Regions from separate parts of the Homo sapiens genome. Here region 1 is linked to region 2. Evidence: promoter capture Hi-C in 16 types of primary human blood cells and fetal thymus (Javierre and others, 2016). All regions are on one chromosome and are shown on one strand. The core of a region is centred on a gene start or on the middle of the fragment in contact, and the rest is flanking DNA. Distances in the headings are between cores, read along the strand shown. Region 1 has its middle 6.1 kb from the start of FOXN2. Region 2 holds the start of FBXO11 (F-box protein 11).

Region 1 (2,700 bases), core at 105-2,604, 400 kb after region 2:
AGGACTTGATTCCCATTACTACTTATGTAAAGCTCTATCACTGCACTTGTATACTGCAATTATATTTTCTGATTTGCTTGTCTGTAGTTTTAACTACTATTTTCATCTCTGTACTAAGTGCAGGGCCTGGAACATAGTCAGTAGTTAATATGTTTATTTAATGAATGAGGTAAAGGTACACAGTCTATCTGTAAAATAGGGATAGATTCTAAGCAGCCTGAAGGCTCAGGATCCTCTGATATCCTTACCAGCTTCATGAGCCAAAGCAGAAATAACATAAACTAATGAATTTCTTCATGTGTAAAGGACTGTAGAAAAGTATTCCATATGTCCTTATACTTAACTTTGCTAATAGCATTGTTCAGACCCATAGTCACTGAATTTTTTGTCTGCCTGTTTTATCAGTAACTGAATATGTTAACATCTCCTCCTAAAATTCTGGATTTTTTATTCCTCGTAGTTCTGTAATTTTTGCTTTATATATTTTGAGGTTATGTTATTGGAGGAATACAAATTTAGAATATTTTTATCTTCCTGGCAAATTAAGTCTTCATTATTATGAAGAGTCTCCCTTTCACTCCAGCAGTACTTTTCGTCTTTTTTTTTTTTTTTGAGACGGAGTCTCACTCTGTTGCCCAGGCTGGAGTACAGTGGCGTGATCTCGGCTCACTGCAAGCTCCAACTCCTGGGTTCATGCCATTCTCCTGCCTCAGCCTCCCGAGCAGCTGGGATTACAGGTGCCTGCCACCACACCTGGCTAATTTTTTTTGTATTTTTTAGTAGAGATGGGGTTTCACCGTGTTAGCCAGGATGGTCTCGATCTCCTGACCTCGTGATCCGCCCGCCTCGGCCTCCCAAAGTGCTGGGATTACAGGCGTGAGCCAACGTGCCCGGCCCCAGTACTTTTTGTCTTAGTATCTACTTAATTTAGCTATTCCAGCTTCCTTTTGGTAATTTTGCATGGTTTACTTTTTTTCTATTTTTTACTTTCAAACTTTCTGTATTTTTATGTTCTAGATTATGCCCCTTGTAAAGAGCGTGTGGTTATTTTTGCCCAGTGACAATCTGTGGTAGTTGGTTACATCAATTGGTGGCCCCAGGTTCATCCTACTTCCTAGTATTTACACCCTTATGTAGTTTCCTCCTCTTGACTCTAGGCCTGTTATTTCCTTTATCTGATAGAATGTAACAGAAGTGACAGTGTGTTAGTTCTAAACCTAATCTTCTTGGGAACTCTGAGCTTGCATGTAAGAAGTCGGCTATCTTTCTGTAGAGGCTACATGGATTGGCCATGTGGAACAGAAGTCCTAGAACTACTTGTAGAAAAACCAAAGAACCCAATCAATTGTGAGAACCAAGGCCCCACACATATGATATCAGTCAAGCTGTTCTAACCCCCGGCCATTGGAGCCATCCTAGCTAGGTGCTAGACATGTGAGTGAAGAAGCTATCTAGAACATTTCAGCCCCAGCGGACATCACCCAGAGAAGAGAGAGCCTTCTCCATTATGCCCTGTTGAAATTTCTGACCCACAGAATCTGGAAAAATAATAAAATGGTTTTGATTTTAAGCTACTACATTTTTTTTTTTGGAGATAGGGTCTTGCTATGTTGCCCAGGCTGGAGTACAGTGGCACCATCTGGGCTCACTGCAACCTCCACCTCCTGGTTCAAGTGATTCTTGTGCCTCATCCTCCTGAGTAGCTGGGACTACAGGTGGGTACAACCACGTTTGGCTAATTTTTTTGCATTTTTATTAGAGATGGGGTTTCACCATGTTAGCTAGGCTGGTCTCAAACTCCTGACCTCAAGTGATTCACCTGCTCAGCCTCCCAAAGTGCTGGGATTACAGGTGTGAGGCACCGTGCTGGGCCTAAGCTACTAAATTTTGGGGTAGTTTGTTATATAACAATAGGCAACAAAAACAATCTTTGTCATTAAATTATGATCTGTTTTCATTTAGTGTAATTAGTGATATATTTGGGTTTATGTCTACCATCTTATAACAACTTTCTATTTGCTCTATCATATGTTCTTATTTCTCTTCTATCTTGCATTTAGATTATTTTTTATTTCCTCACATGCTCAAATTAGATTGGAAATTGCATAGTGTCCTGGCTTATTTTATGAATCAACTTGCCAGTGCCACTGGTGGCCAAATGTTTGGTCAAACACTATTCTAAATGTTTCTGTGAAGGTGTTTTTTGGATGAGATTAACATTTAAATCTGTAGACTTTAATAAAGCAGATTACCTTCCATAAGGTGGGTAGATCTTATCCAATGCCTTAATAGAACAAAGATTTATCTCCCATGGGCAAGAAGGAATTCTGCTAGCCGACTGCTTTTGGACTCAAACTGCAACTCTTCTTTGTCTCTAGCCTGTTGTTCTACCTTACAGCTTTTAGGCTACTAAGCCTCCACTTCTGTTTCTCTGAAGAATCCTGACTAATACAGTTTCTTACTATTTTCTCAATGATTATTCTAAAGCTCATAAGATGTATTCTTGACTTACCAGAGTCTAATATTAACTATCACTTTTTCCATACTTCTAGAAAATGCACTGATTTTAGAACACTTGATTCCATTTACCTTCTCCTGACATATACCATTATTTCGTGTGTGTGTGTGTGTGTGTGTGTGTGTGTGTCTTAAGAGGGTCTCTGTTGCTCAGGCTAGAGTGCAGTGCAGTGGTGCAATGAT
Region 2 (2,700 bases), core at 1-2,500:
AAACCAAACAAAGCGCGGCCTGAGCGAGAGCCCAGGCGAGAAGGGAAGCCGCGGCTTTTCCTGCCGGCCGGGCCCGGCCCGGGCTGACACTGCGGCACCGGGGGACCCGCCTCCGCTCAGCTTGGGTCTCCCACCCCCAGGGCGCGCAGGCCGCCCCCGCCCGCCCGCCCGCCCGCCCGCCCCGGCCTCCCTTCCCGCGGTGCCCGGGAAGGCGGGCGGTTGGGAGGTAGCGCGGCCTTACCCCGCTCGCCGACGTTGTTCCGCTCCTGAGGCAGCGGCGGAGGCGGCGGTGGCGGCGGCGGAGGCTGCTGCTGCTGCTGCTGCTGCGGCGGCGGCGGAGGCTGCTGCTGGGGCGGCTGCTGCTGGGGCGGCTGCGGCGGCGGCTGCTGCGGGGGCTGCTGCTGCTGTTGCTGCACCGGGCGCGGCCGCGACACTCGCCTGGGTCTCCGGTTGGCGGCTCGGACGGAGTTCATTTGCCGGGCTGAGGTGGCGGCGTTGGCGGAGGGACACACACACGCACACGCACAGCGAGCTTCGGGGCAGGAGAAAGGGGTGGGGAGAGTGGGAGAGGGGGGAGGAAGGAGAGGGGGCGAGGGGAAGGGGAGACGCTGAGGGCGGAGGGGGCGAGCGGGACCCCGAGTCCGGAGAAAGGCCCGGGTAGACAGACGGAGACCGAGCGAGGCCGGCCGGGAGGGCCTGACGCACGGGGAAGGCCGAAGCCGCCGGGCGGGGCGGCCGCGAGGGACGAAGGCAGAAAGACGGGCAGACCGAGAGAAAGAAAGAAAGGGCGTCCGCCGCTTGGGGATCCCGAGGCGAAGCGCGGCGGCGGCGGCGGCGGCGGCTGAAGAGACAGATCCCGGTCCCGCCGACTCGCGAGCGGCGTCTCCGGCAGCGGGGGGAGTGGGCGGGCGGGTGAGGAAGGGAGAAAAAGAGAGGGAGAGAAGGGAGGGAGGGAGCAGGGGGCGCCCGGCTCTTTTTTTTCCCTCTTCCTCCCCCCCACACCCCCTGAAAGAGATTTCTGTGAGGAATTTTTCTCTCTTTCTTCGGTCTCTTCTCTCTCCTCCCCCCCTTCTCTCCTCGGCGAAGGGGAAATGAGTGTGAAGGGAGGAGATAGGGGGAAAAAGAGGCGTCGTCCTTCCTCCTCCTTAAAGGAACCTTTCCTCCTCCTCCTCGTCAGCCCTGTCGCCGCTGCTTCTGCTGCTGCTCCGTGGCAGGAGGAGCCATTGACACCGCCGGAGCCTCCACTCGCCCAGTCGGTCCCTCCCCGCCGCGGGGCTGGCCGGGGGCGCGGGGGAGGGCCGCGGGGCGGCGGGGGGAGGGGTGGGTGGGCGGGGAAAGGAGGGGCGGGGATTCCGTCCAGGCGGCCAATCTAAGGCGCCCGTACAACCTTCCGGCCAATGGGGCCTCCGCTCTTATCGCGAAGTCCCTTCAACGCCCTGTTTCCTCTCTCGGGTTTCCTCCCTCCCCCGCCTAGGAGGGGGAAAGAGGAAAGGGGGAGTGTGGCGGGGCGGGTGATAATGGGGAGGTATCAGGGCAAATAATAGAGCAGGGGGTGGGCGAAGAGAGCGCCAGTGCGTAGCGACGATTCTGGGAGAGGAGGTGCTCGGAGGAAAGGGCGGGGGTTGCTGATGTAATGGGGAGAAGTGATTAATCCTTCGGTTCGCCGTTTCAGCTTCCCCCCTACCCCAACCTTCACCCGATTTTTTTGAGCTGAAAAAAAAGTGGAACGAGGGAGCCAATCTTTGGTAACTCGGGTTTTCTGTGGTAGGTGGGTTCAAAATCTGAGCTGTAGGGAGCGCTAGAGATTTCGTGCCCTTTAGCCAAGCTGAGGGTATTTGCAAACCCTGAAGATTTCCGTCTCCGAGCTTTGGGCTTGGTAAGCGAAGTTTGGAGTCGGTGCCTAATCGTATATCATCTAAACCTTGAAAAGGCTTTGACCTTTGGCCAATTTGATTTGTTCTTTGAAGAAGTGTATACAATGTGTGGGAAAATAATATGTGAGAGGAGAGAAGTAAATGTGTTGATGTTGTGATTGTTTATGTGATTTAATTTTTAATTTTTTTTTTTTAGGTCCCACAAACTGCAAGGAAAAGAAAAACCCTCAACAGGAATTACCTTTATACCTGATGCCCCCAACATAATCTCTCTCCAAGGGAAACGTGTTTTTATTGCCTTGCGGCTGAAAATGTATTCTCGATTCTCCCCCTTCTCTCTTTTGTTGTGCATTTTTTGGATGTGGTAAAACTGGCAGTTTATCTGATTATCTGGTTTTCAGAACTTTGGGCGATGTCTCTGAGTGTCATCAGTTGCTCTCTAGGTTTGACATAGATAATTAAGCAACTACAAAGCGTGATAAAGCTTTTGAGAGGGAGGAAAATGTATTTTGGAAGGAGGGAGAGACGCAAAGAGGCGAGCCTGTGTGTTGAGTCCCAGACTTGGTGTGTGACTACAGGCAAAGTACTTCACCTTTCTAGATGTCAGCCCCGCCCCCCTCACCTCCCAAGTTTAAATAAGAACTTATTTTAGACTACATGATCCTGTTTTCAATTTTTAAGAGTTCTGTGATTTTGAGATGATCTCTCTTTAGTCCAGAAAAATAGAGAAACGTAGGTCTATGTTTGTTTCTCAAAAAAATATTTGAGGAGGACAGCTGTTACAAAACAGCTGGAGAACTCCAAATTTTTATGGTGGTTAGCTAGG

What was found. Contacts are between HindIII fragments. The CHiCAGO score rates a contact against its expected background, and 5 or more counts as called.
Region 1: a fragment that was not itself captured here is called in contact with the fragment with the promoter of FBXO11 in region 2 in 15 of 17 cell types (total CD4 T cells, total CD8 T cells, naive CD4 T cells and 12 more); the score reaches 18.1 in total CD4 T cells.

Annotation. Positions count from the first base shown.
Region 1 is chr2:48,307,280-48,309,979 of GRCh38, forward strand. No RefSeq gene overlaps it. Among named protein-coding and RNA genes, the nearest start is that of FOXN2, 6.1 kb to the right of the region's middle. The HindIII fragment of the contact is 6,909 bases long and covers 1-2,700 here.
Region 2 is chr2:47,905,248-47,907,947 of GRCh38, forward strand. FBXO11 (F-box protein 11) reads right to left here and starts at 1,251. Exons shown (of 23, transcript NM_001190274.2): 1 at 242-1,251. The coding sequence starts at 473. LOC100506235 (a long non-coding RNA gene) reads left to right here and starts at 303. Exons shown (of 2, transcript NR_187636.1): 1 at 303-552; 2 at 2,071-2,700. RefSeq lists silencers at 24-73, 84-203, 564-753, 1,244-1,343 and an enhancer at 1,413-2,197. The HindIII fragment of the contact is 3,894 bases long and covers 1-2,356 here.